Regions from separate parts of the Homo sapiens genome. Here region 1 is linked to region 2. Evidence: promoter capture Hi-C in human tissues and cell types (Jung and others, 2019). All regions are on one chromosome and are shown on one strand. The core of a region is centred on a gene start or on the middle of the fragment in contact, and the rest is flanking DNA. Distances in the headings are between cores, read along the strand shown.

The links. Contacts are between HindIII fragments. The study calls those that stand out against the background at their distance.
Region 1: a contact is called between a fragment that was not itself captured here and the fragment with the promoter of SLC10A6 in region 2, in 2 of the 25 tissues and cell types used here (dorsolateral prefrontal cortex and pancreas).

The regions. Positions count from the first base shown.
Region 1 is chr4:86,689,497-86,695,800 of GRCh38, forward strand. PTPN13 (protein tyrosine phosphatase non-receptor type 13) reads left to right here. Exons shown (of 48, transcript NM_080683.3): 6 at 4,091-4,178. Among named protein-coding and RNA genes, the nearest start is that of PTPN13, 98 kb to the left of the region's middle. The HindIII fragment of the contact is 5,009 bases long and covers 199-5,207 here.
Region 2 is chr4:86,846,671-86,853,013 of GRCh38, forward strand. It overlaps SLC10A6 (solute carrier family 10 member 6), which reads right to left and starts at 2,714. Exons shown (of 6, transcript NM_197965.3): 1 at 2,069-2,714. The coding sequence starts at 2,445. The HindIII fragment of the contact is 7,017 bases long and covers 684-6,343 here.

The DNA of each region.
Region 1 (6,304 bases), core at 1,453-3,952, 160 kb before region 2:
TGCTTCTATTGTGAACACCTAGAAAAAATGTATTAACATGAAAATGGGTTTTAGAAATATTTAAATGTACTTTCTGTTGCTTTATACCTGTTTCGTGACCACTCATTTGTCTGGATCTTCTAGGTATTTCCCAAACCTTCTCCACTTTCCCTTCTTCTCGGAACACTGCTACCTAGTGTATCCAGGGAATCCATGCTTGTATCCCTGCCAGATTTCCCCAAGACCTGGACTCTTCTAGTTTTTCTCTTGTTTTGGATATGAAGAATCCCAAGAATAACCAATGCTATATATTACCTGAAAGTCCCACCTCTGTTCTGCATTTCTAAGGCTGTATTTTATCTTGTTTGCCCTATCTGATCTGGATCTATACTTTATCTGCTCTTATCCTTAGGGTTGTAGTCCTGGAGTGTTGGTCCCTCTTCCTTGCACAGGTTACAAATTTACCACTGCCACACAGTGTTCTTGTTGACTTCCTCAGAATTCCTCATCGGTAGGGGTTTAGTTCCCATCTTAACCAGGATGTCAGATGGCTGCCAGGAATGTATTCAAATTCTGCACAGTTTTTCAGTTGATAACAAACAGGCCCACAGATCTTCTAGACAAATGGTTTGTAAACTCTCCCTCAAGAAACCTTTGCGGTTCTATAGTGAAGGGAAATGTAGGAAGTAGAGGCCGAATAAATGGAGTTCTTGGTTGCCCATTTTCCCTCTTTAACTAGAGCAGCTCCAGTTTTATTTGATCTGTTTATATTTCTGCGTGTGATTTTTTTGAACAAAGGTAAAGCTATTAAAAAATCTTTGAAAACCATCTGTCCAGACCAAAGTTTCTCATATTGTTTTCAATATTTTTGTTTTAAAAATTCCTCTATGACCAAATAAGCTTGAGAAGAAACTATTTAAAGGAAATTAAATGTATTTTCACTGGAGAACTTCTTAGAACCTTTAATATACTAGACTATATTACTAACCTTCAAGAAGAATAGGCATGTAAATAAAGCATTTCCCAAACTTTCTTGGTCTTGGAGGTCTTTTTTTCAGACATTCTCATAAGACTAATATTCTTTAAAACTTCACTTTATGGATAAGGAAACTGATACCCAAACAACTATGGGATTTGAGTTTCCTATTAGACAGTCCAGGGACTTTTTTATTACACCACACTTTCTCTAAGACTTTTGTGCTGCTTGCTAATTTTACTCCTATAGTAAAATTGTGAGAGATATTTTTTTCTGTCTTTGAATGAAGAATTTTTTTTCTGTCACCATAGAAATTATATTACCTATCTAATAATTGCCCATATTACATATAAAATCTTCATCCCTTTAAGGTTTAGCATTTAGTTCTCTTTATTATAGTGGATCTTTATTGTTCATTTATGTATGAAACCTGTGCTAGGGATTATAGAAGATACAAATTTGAATAAAATATTTGATCTAGGAGCTCTTATCTAAAATGCCATAACCATTTGCTTAATTATAAAATGAAAGAAGGCTATAAAATGATACATAGTAAAAATTTTAACAGCTATGAGAGTTTAAAGGAAAAGGATACAAATTATGACTGCATTGAAAAATAGCACTTTGAAGCTGAGCATGGTGATGCATGCCTTTAGTCCCAGCTACTCAGGAGGCTGAGATGGGAGGACTACTTGAGCCTGGGAGGTCGAGGCTGTAGTGAGGCATGATTGCACCACTGCAGTCCAACCTAGGCAACAGAGTAAGGCCCTACCTCAAAAAAAAAAAAAAAAGTTAAAATTAAAAATAGCACTTCGAACTGTATCCTATAGGCTAGATAATCTCGGCAGAGGGAAGTGAACCTGGATAAAGGCTGTGAAATGGGAAAGCAGGAATGTTTGGGGAACAGTATGACATGGGGTGTATTGTGGGGTTATTTAATGGGAGAGAAAAATAGAAGGATCAGTTGGAATCAGCATGTAGAGAGCCTCTCTTCACAAAGACAAATTTTTACTAAGTATAATAATGCTCCCCTTACCTTTCTATTGCTCTTCCTCATCTCCTAGACATCACTGGGTAGAAGTAACTCCAACAGCTACTGTTTTTTAAGTGTTTGTTTACTTTGTGCCAGACACTATGCTAAGGGGTTGATGTGCATTATCACATTATTCATCATAACAACCTCAATTTAATAGAGATACTTTTATCCTCATTTTAGAGGGCATAAAACTAAGGCTAAGAAAGATTAAATAACTTGCACATAGTCACAGATACGGTAAATGATGGAGACATAATTGGAACTGGGGTGTTTTTGACCCCAGTATATTCCTTAAAGCTTTTGTTGCCTCCAGTAGCTGACAGAATGAGTTAGTCTTTCACTGGTGTGAAATTCATTCTGAGTGACCATCATTCTTACTTAACATTAATTAGCGTGAGTAAAAGTCAGCAAGCCAGCTTACTTGTCTAGGTTTTTCCACTGATTTAATGTTATAATATTTGGACCACAATTTTACTTATCTGCAAAATAGGAATAATAATAATATGTGTCAATCATCCATATTATTAAACTGTTGTAAAAGTAGTTATTTCCACATTAATGAGCTGCTTTGTGGTCCTTAGAAGTTTCTTTGCTATTTCTCCCTTTATTTATAATATGAGGATAATATTGTCTACCATATGAGGTTGTTTGAGGATTAAATAGCACAAAGTGTGTGCCTAGCATATAGTAACTGTTCAATAAACAACAGTTATTAATAGTAACTAACTTCAATGCAGGAATTTTCAAAGATGTGGGATGTTAGTAATACTGTCTTTTCAGTCACTGACAGTACAGTGTAATCTGGACTAACATCATTTATGCAACTTAACTGATAACATGATTTCAGAAATACTTCCATTTACAAGTCTTCTTATAGGTAGAAAACATAATGCTTGAGCCTTGAATATACCACCTTAGATGGGTTTTTAATCCATACTTCAGCAAAATTCACTAATGGAGCAATATTAAAACATTTCTGTGGTATGTGCGAGTTTGTGTGTGTGTAAACAAATATGTATGCATGCTTTTGGTGCTAGATTTAAGTAATTTCTCTTCACCATTCTCTCTTCTTCCATTTATATTGACATTTCTCCTCTATTTGGCCACCTGAATAAAACAGTGGTCTGTCCAGTTTTTTATCCCTTATAGTGTGGAGTTTGACCTAATTTGACATACTTTATTTCAAGCAGATACCCTTTGCTAAAGCTATTAAACTTTAAGATTACATTTTGTTTTAAAGGGAACTTAAAAGAGCATTGATTTAAATTTGTTATCCCTCAGAGCGTCCATTTAAAGACTTAGCATTTCTCGGCCAGGCATAGTGGATCACGCCTGTAATCCCAGCACTTTGGGAGGCCAAGGCAGGCAGATCACTTGATGTCAGGAGTTCAAGACCAGCCTGGCCAACATGGTGAAACCCTGTCTCTACTTAAAATACAAAAATTAGCTGGTGTGGTGGTATGCACCAGTAGTCCCAGCTACTCTGGAGGCTAAGGCATGAGAATCGCTTGAACCTGGGAGGCAGAGGTTGCAGTGAACCGAGGTCCTCCAACCTGGGTGACAGAGTGAGACTCCGTTATATTTAAAAAAAAAAAAAAAAAAAAAAGACTTAGCATTTCACAAATGTAATTTCTGAAGGGCAAGATCTATAAAATTATTTCTGAAAGTAATTTAAATTCCTCAATTCATAGTTATAATCAAGAGAAAGCTTTATTATACCAAAATTAATGTGGTTTTTAAATTATAAACTAACTTAAGAGTAGTTAGTGGTTGGGGAAAAAAGAAGACTTCAAGTTTACTGTTTTCAAATAGAACTCATTTTAACAAGTTTAATCTGATGGTATTTTCTAGTTAGTAGGTTACTCTTCAGTCACTGCTTCTTCCCTTTTAATTTTCTGAAATGAATTGGCCAGCACTGGTCTACATAAATCTTATCCAAGAATACAAATTACCCTACAAATACAATAGGACATAGAGTCTCATTATTTAATGTTACATCCTCCAAAAACTGTGTAACTAGTGTCATTCTGTAAACAGTTACCATGAAAACAAAAGGGAGATCCTTTTGTCAAACTTGATTTTTTATTACCTGTGTACAGACAGATCAGCTTTCCTGTAACAGTGAACAAAAGCCTGATCGAAGCCAGGCTATTCGAGATCGATTGCGAGGAAAAGGATTACCAACAGGTAAGAGTATATTAATAGGAAATGTCTAGGCTTTAACCTTATCCCATTGTTTTCTTTACAAAATTATACTTACCTGGCTTTGAAATCTGGTAATTGAGACTATGATTAGAACGTAAACGTACAAACTGGAGGTAGGGAATGGGCAGGAACACTAGCTACATTAAAAATAATTTCATTAAACTTATACAGAAAACATTATTAATATACTTAGGATTCCCAGAGTAACTTATTTCCCTTTCCAGTATTGGTATATCAATAATAATAATATTTATTTACTTTATCGTGGTATTTCATATTAAAAATACTTTTTAAAGCATGACTAAATAAACACATGTATATGTTTATGAACATAAACACTACTGAAACAAAAGTTTCAGAAAACGTTTTTCTTACTGCACTCTGATATTTTTTATCATATTTCTTTTTTTTTTTAAATGCTAGTAATAACTCACTAAATAGATTTTATCATGGAGTTATCAAATACTACCTTAGGTCATGTGATACTTAGTAAATAAAAACTAATGATGAGTAGTGATTTTGCTATTTGTCAATAGCATTATATAATTCTGTATCCTATGATAAGTATTAAATTTATTTTTTTGAAAGAAATGAATGGAAATTTCAGGCCAGGCGTGGTGGCTCACGCCTGTAATCCCAGTGCTTTGGGAGGCTGAGGTGGGCGGATCACCTGAGGTCAGGAGTTCGAGACCAGCCTGGCCAACATAGTGAAATCCCATCTCTCTAAAAATACAAAAATTAGCCGGGCATGGTGGCAGGCACCTGTAATCCCAGCTACTCGGGAGGCTGAGACAGGAGAATCTTGAACCGGGGAGGCAGAGGTTGCAGTTAGCCGAGATCACACCACTGTGCTCCAGCCTGGGCAACAAAGAGTGAACTTCTGTCTCAAAAAAAAAAAAAAAAAAAAAAAAAGAATGGAAATTTCAAACACTTGAAATAAAAGTAAATATAATTTTATGTGACAATTTATTTTTCATTGCTACTTTCAGGCATGGCTTATTTATAAAATAAACTTTTGATTTTGTTGATTATCTTTGTTCTCTTCTTATCAAGCAGTTTTGAGAATCATGATAATCTAAACATTAACAGAAATACTTTTTTAGATCTTGTCCTAGATCTTGGGGCTAGGTAGAAGTAAATGTACAGATTGCTTAAATATATTCTAACAAAATATATTCTAATTGATATAGCTTAATAAAATAGATTAAAAAGTTAAGATTTTAATTTAATCAGAGCATCAGAGAAACCTGTCTTACTTAAAACCTATGAGCAACTCTAATTGTGAAAAATAAATGTAGACCTTGACTATCTGGACCAAATGTTTTACAGAGTCAGAACTCTCATATCTGAGAGGAAGGAATGTGTAAGTTAAAGAAAAGCAGTAAAATTGTTTCTAAGGGAGTGATTTTGTAATGGTACAGTTAAGTATCTGTTTTGGTGCTTCCATTTTAATTATTGTGAATAAAGACTATCTGAAAAGATATTTTAGCTTTCATTTCATTGGTATAGTAATTTATTTCTGGTTAGATCAGAGTTTTTTTCTAATGCATATATGATTAGTTTATATATGGGCCAAAAAAATAACAGTGTGGTAACAATTTTGAAAGTATTTTTCATCCTTTCTTGCAAATATTTCCTTCCTATACTTATGTCCCCATACTGTACTTTTGTCACTTTCTTTTTGTAGGTAAAAATATGTTTATTTTTATACTATTCTAGGATTTGAGATAGTATATAGTGTAAACTTTAGCACTAATAATAGCAGCAATTTGTTAATTGATCAAATTTGCAGTCAGTCTCCTATTTTAGAATCGAATAATAACAAACTTATAGATGAATATCAATAGCAAGCTGAAATAATCTTTTGGGAGACATAGTGAACATTTTAATAAGTAGAACATTAGATTTAAAAGACATTTTTGTTTTTCTTACTTATCTTTTTCTATTTTCTCCCTCTCTTTCTTTGCTCTCTCCACCTCCCTCTTTCCTTTCCTCTCTCCCTCCCTCCTTTCTTATTTCTCTTTGTTATTCTTTCTCTAACCTCTTTCAGCAGTTCCCTACTATCATTTCCTACTACCATTAAGTGGCCATGTTATGTAGTTGAAGTT
Region 2 (6,343 bases), core at 1,464-3,963:
AGCCGAGATCGCACCATTGCACTCCAGCCTGGGCGACAAGAGTGAAACTCCACCCCAAACTATTATCTATATATGTGTGTGTGTGTTTGAGTGTGTGTACATATATATACATATATATACAGTCTTGTGAGAAATAGGTAAATTTAACCCCATTTTGCCAATGATGAGATAAGGCTTAGATAGGTTAAATAATTTGAACAAAGTTAAAGGTGAATTAAAGATAAGAGTTGGCAAAAGAAAGTAAAAGTAGCTTTATCTTTCATAGGTTTCCTGTTCATTGGTGTTTTTATGACAACATTGACTAATAAGAGATTAAGGTAATAAATGTTCTCTTTCCCAGAACACAAGTGTTTGAGAACACTGAAGATTTATGCTGCTATTCAAAACAGAAGATCTAGTTGTGTTGCTAAATGCCATGGGGGAAATGTGCCTAAACTGCAGACTGATGTAAAACAGATGAGAATTCAAATCTGAGTTCTGCCATACTGGTTTGTAGCATTTGGCAAGCTACTTAACCAATCTGAATCACAATTTTCTCAGCTGTAAAATTCAGAACAATAAAAGGCCATTTACAAGGTTATTATGAGCCCCAAGAAGAAAATAAGCATGAAAGCATCTATCCCATGCCTATGGGGCACTTAATAAATATTAGTTTCCTTTTTCTTTCCAAAAACTTTTAGGTCCTGGAATTTATCTCTGATTTATGAACTTCATGCAAAGAATATCTATCATTTCCCAGTTAAATAATCAACTTTACTGAATTTGAATTAGCAATGTATATTAATGGCTTTTACCATTAAGGTAAAACACAAAAGCAGTGTATATTAGTGGCTTTGTATATGAGTGGCTTTTACCATTAAGGTAAAACACAAAATTCATCAAGTTATTTTTTTTTCAAATCTCTCATAAGTGGGTAAACAAAAACACTGCCTTGGGAAAGTTAGTTCCTATTCTGCATGGTATGAGCCCATTAAAATTTATAGGTGAAATATGTTCCATACGCTAAACATTCAGCACAAGCGGAAAACTGGAAACACATACCTGCAGCTGACTCTCACTGATGTCAACTCCCAGCTCAGTCATTACCTCTGATTCATTCATTCATGGTAAAGTGAATCTCAACTAAATGACATACACATGAAACAAATACTTAAATTTATAAGCAGTTCTTCCCCAGGGCAGGAAGTGAAACGGCATGTTCACAAGTAAGCAAAGAGTCTCGAGAGACCATTGTTTTTAGCTCTTTTTCCAGTGCTATCCCTCTACTCTTTCCTCAAATGCTCTTTTTTTCCCCCATCAAAACATGTAATCCAGAAAAGCATGTGACTAATTCATCCTCATTAAAGTGTAAATAAGGGACAAGGCTTAATGTCTCCCAGAGGTATTTATCTACACCATAATTGGGAATAAGGTCACTGGCTTAAAGGGAAGGAATGCGAATCTAGTGATGATGTTAACGATCTGCAAAGCAACAAGAAAGAACAATTTTAGTCCTGAGAGCCTTCGCATTGCTCCTGAAGTCAAATCGACAAGCCATCTCAGCACTTAAAGCTGGATATGGCCACCAGACACCCCTAAAGCTCCTTTATCCAGTCCTCTAAAGTGCTTCTTTCCTAAAGTAGGTGCTCAGGCATCACTGACTGGAGCTACGGGAGTCTCATTCTGACTATGCCACTGACACAACCACGACGGCTGCTACCAAACCACAATCGTTAGCTTCTTGGGATTCTTGGTTTAAGTCCTAGGAGTTGCTAAAGAGGCCAGTGTAGGTAAGAATGAGCTCAAGCTTAGGAAGGGCCACTGGGTGAGGTGCAGACCTGCCTCCACTGCTCAGAACGCATCCCACTGCTCAGAACAGTAGCCAATAAAGAAAATGATCATCAGCAAAGTAACTTTTGAGCACTGAAAGGAAAGCCCACCCATGGCTGAACAAGTCTCTGTGATATTTGTAACATTTCCCACTAGAATCTCTACCAAAAGATTAGAAGAGTGTTTAACACAAGAGTTTCAGTTATTCCCCCTAGGCAGGATAAGAGACAGACTGCTGAGCTTCCCTGGGGTTACTTACCTGAGATCCATATCTCCATCAACCCAGAAGGTGAAAATGTTAGAGATGGTGCCCCCCGGGCAGCAGCCCATGATGAGAACAGCAATAGCTTGGACTGGCTTCAGAGAAAAGCTAATGGCCAGGAGATAAGCTGTAAAAGGCATGAGCCCAAACTGGCAGAGCAGTCCCACAGCAATGCCCCAGGGTCTCCTGATGTGCGACCACAGCTTCCGGATCTCCACGGAACATCCCAAAGAGAACATGAGCAGCCCCATCATCACAGTGGACACCACTGTGAAAACGAGCTCCAGGTTTCCATGCACCTCCAGTCCCACTGGCAGCTCCTCCTCTGAACTGTTGGCAGGGCAGGCTGAGCTGCTGGAACAATTGGCTCTCATCTCCTCATCTCCTTAAGGCAGCATTACAAATGAACATCGGCAACAATGGCTGGGCAGGTCTATCCTGCCACATTTTGTAATAGTGCAACGAAGTCACACATGGAGAATCATTCCAATAACTGTTGGCCAGCAAGGTGATTCATCCTAATCTGATCAATTTTTTCACAAGTGGCATTATAAAAGTAATTATCACAGGCATGAAACATATAATAAACTGTGGTAAGTAAGGCTTTCCACTTCTGTTCTTACTCACCACTGAATATGTATGTGAGATGAGACAAACAAACTTGTTGTCAAGTGGAGTGACCGGGCTATGTCGTCAGCATCACATTGTGTCCCTGGAAAGTAGGGTGGATGCCAAGAAATAATTTCTCCAAATTCAGTTGGGATTTCAAAGAGCCAGGATGCACAGACAGAAAAGCTAACTCCGGAAAAAACAACAAAGCCAAAGCCACACCTTGTAGCATTAGCAAAGCGTGTCTGCTGGAAATAGAGCAAAAAGAAAAAAAACGCCGGTGGAGGAAATGTCAGGAGGGACTAAGAATAATTTCAAGGAGCTTCAGAATTTGTCTCAGTTTTTCTTCTAGTTCTATTAGAATTTGTGTCTAAAGTCAATAATTAAACACCTGTGAGAATAATATGGTATTAGGCACCTAATTATGTCTCATGAAACATGTGAAAACTAATTCCTTCACCCAAAATAATTCAAGGGAGCTCTCACTTGCTTTTGGAGATAAGAGTCTACTTTGAGATACATACCCCTGGCCTCCTAGGGACATCTGGGAATCCTGCAAGGGGATGTGGTAAAGAGCTTGGTCTGAAATGGAGATGGGGTCTGAGGACAGCCTCTGACCACAGTGCCCAGGGCCCCTCTGTGCATTCTAAGCAGGCACTGCTGGCAAAACCCAAGGACTGTATGGTTCTGTGAAACTAAACCTCTGAAAAAGCAGGTGCCACACCCCTTCTCACAGCAGAAAGTTTATTTGTGGGGCACAGGCTAGTAACAAGGCACACTTCATAAACGCCTCTACCTGTCTCAAGAGGGATACTAGCTATGCATTGTTTATTCATGGATGAGCAAATTCTTCTCCATGACAGAATGCTCAGGACATGCTGACTGTATAAAAATACAAGTTAGATTCAAATGTGAAGTAAATTCTAACTATTTGAAGAAAGAATAAACTGCCTTTGGCAAACAAACCCTGAAGGCAGCTCTGGCCATCCAGCCTCCCTGGAGGTTGCGTATAAGGGGTCAGTCAGCACAGGGCGTATTTACGCAGAGCCCTGCAGAGAATGGACACTGAGGAACGGGAAAGGTCTCTGGAAGGCAAGGTGTTCCCAGCTTGAATGATGCAGAGGTGTGGTCAGGCTGAGGAGGAAGGGAGGAGGGAGACAGCTAACATTTTCTGAGCACTTCTCAGGGGTGACAGAGGTGGTGATATGGTTTGGCTGTGTTTCCCCCGCACCCAAATCTCATCTTGAATTATAGCTCTTATAATTCCCATGTGTCATGGGAAGAACCTGGTGGAAGGTCATTGAATCATGGGGGCGGGTTTCTCCCGTGCTGTTCTCATGATAGTGAATAAGTCTCTCAAGTTCTGATGGTTTGATAAAGGGGAGTTCCCCTACACACGCTCTTGCCTTTTCTGCCACCATGTAAAACGTGTCTTGCTTCCCCTTCCCCCTCTGCCATGATTGTGAGGCCTCCCCAGCCATGTGGAACTGTGAGTCAATTAAACCTTTTTCCTTTATAAATTACCCAGTCTTGGGTATGTCTTTATTAGCAGCGTAAAAACAGACCAATACAGGTGGCTAGGTGCTTTACACATATGTGGCTATGTCTGGTGAAGCAGAACTTTATTTACTTATTTAGCAAGAGAAGGGGTCAGGGGTGTCTGCCTAGATAATGTCCAAAAGCCCCTTAGTCAACCTTCTTTTTTTTTTTTTTTTTTTTTTTGAGATGGAGTCTCCTACTGTCGCCCAGGCTGGAGTGCAGTGGAGTGGCGCGATCTCGGCTGACTGCAAGCTCTGCCTCCCGGGTTCATGCCATTCTCCTGCCTCAGCCTTCTGAGTAGCTGGGACTACAGGCGACCACCACCATGCCTGGCTAATTTTTTGTATTTTTAGTAGAGACGGGGTTTCAGTGTTAGCCAGGATGGTCTCGATCTCCTGACCTCGTGATCTGCCCGCCTCAGCCTCCCAAAGTGTCAACCTTCTTTGTTCCCAGGAAGAGTCACTTGAATCGCCCTTTTTAGTTATACAAATTTAAGTTTTGTATAAGCACCTCCATTCCTGATAAGGATGGTATAAGCACCCCCATTTCTGATGAGAATGGTGTGACGGGAACTTTTGTGATTGCTGGGTACTCAGTGCTGATAGAGGGGAGGGGGCTAAATATGCATAGCAGCCTTAAGGAGCCTCCTGGGAGAGGGAGAAAGGTGACCTTGGCCACTTCTCTTTTAAAATGTAGTGTTGGCCGGGCGCAGTGTCTCATGCCTGTAATCCCAGCACTTTGGGAGGCTGAGGCAGGTGGATCACGAGGTCAGGAGATCGAGACCATCCTGGCTAACACGGTGAAACCCATTCTCTACTAAAAATACAAAAAAATTAGCCAGGTGTGGTGGCGGGCACCTGTAATTCCAGCTACTCAGGAGGCTGAGGTGGCAGAATGGCATGAACCAGGGAGGTGGAGCTTGCAGTGAGCGGAGATTATGCCACCAAACTTCAGCCTGGCAGCCTGCACGACAGAGCGAGACTCCGTCTCAAAAAAAAAAAAAAAAAAAAAAAGTAGTGTTATCAGAATTTCTCAAAAGAATTAGGATGTTTCCGACTGAGGTCAGCTGGTCCTAACACACACCAGGAAAGACAGGGGTTTCTTGCCTGATGACAGGTTCCTCTGTGTCCAGTCACCCTGGACAGATGCCACAGGACACAATGACTAAGTATATGGATATGACCTGAAGAGAAGTCATCTTGAGAGCCCAGGCTTGGACACCGCCATGTTGTGTGCCAGGACTGGACCGGAAGGGACAGGGTGGCAATGGATAAAGGCCCACTGGACTGGGTGGGGCCAATGCATCAAAAGGTCCCAACAGAAACAACCGCAGTGATCCCAGGGCCTACCAGCGGGCTGGTCAGGCTTTTCCAAGTTTCTCCCCAGTGGAGATGGGAAGGAGATTTTCCTGGGAAGAGTAAGCACTTAGGGTTCTCGGTCAATTTGTAAAGAAGATTTCAAATACAGGATCGCAGACTTCCTGCCCTTATTGGTAAGTAGAGATTCAAATGATTAATTAGAAAATTTTAAAAAGCATGACCAACTTTACATCCCAAGCCAGTGAGGCAGATTATGAGATCCCACTTAATCCTCACATTTATTCTAGGAAGTAACAAAGGCCCATTGGGGCCATATTATTTGTCGAAGATTATTAAGCAGGTAAATTATAACATTGGGATTTAAATCTCAATCTAATTCTCCACCTGTCCTCGTTTCCTTCCCTGGAGCACACTGAAGTGGAAGCAATGAAAAGCAGTCAAGAGCAAGACCATGCGGAAAAGACTGGCAACCACTTAGGCATAGCTCAGGGGTAAAACACCACTATTTGGCTTAAGGATGGAGAAATAAACTAATCCCTAATCTCTAACATTATCTTCTATTCTCACACACTCAAAAGGCATCTACATATGTTCAATATGTATGCACCTTCATTTTGAGATCCAGTTCTACAAATCACAGGAAGTATTTCATGTACTTCCAGCCTCTGTAAGTAGAATTTGGGGTGAAAGATACTCCTCAGGAAAACCAACAGAAAAGGCTGGGAATGTAAAGTCTGAGGGGAAAGTGCCAAAAGAAAAGGTAACCAGACTTGGCTGTGGAACTGTTTCCCACGCTCTGAAAGGC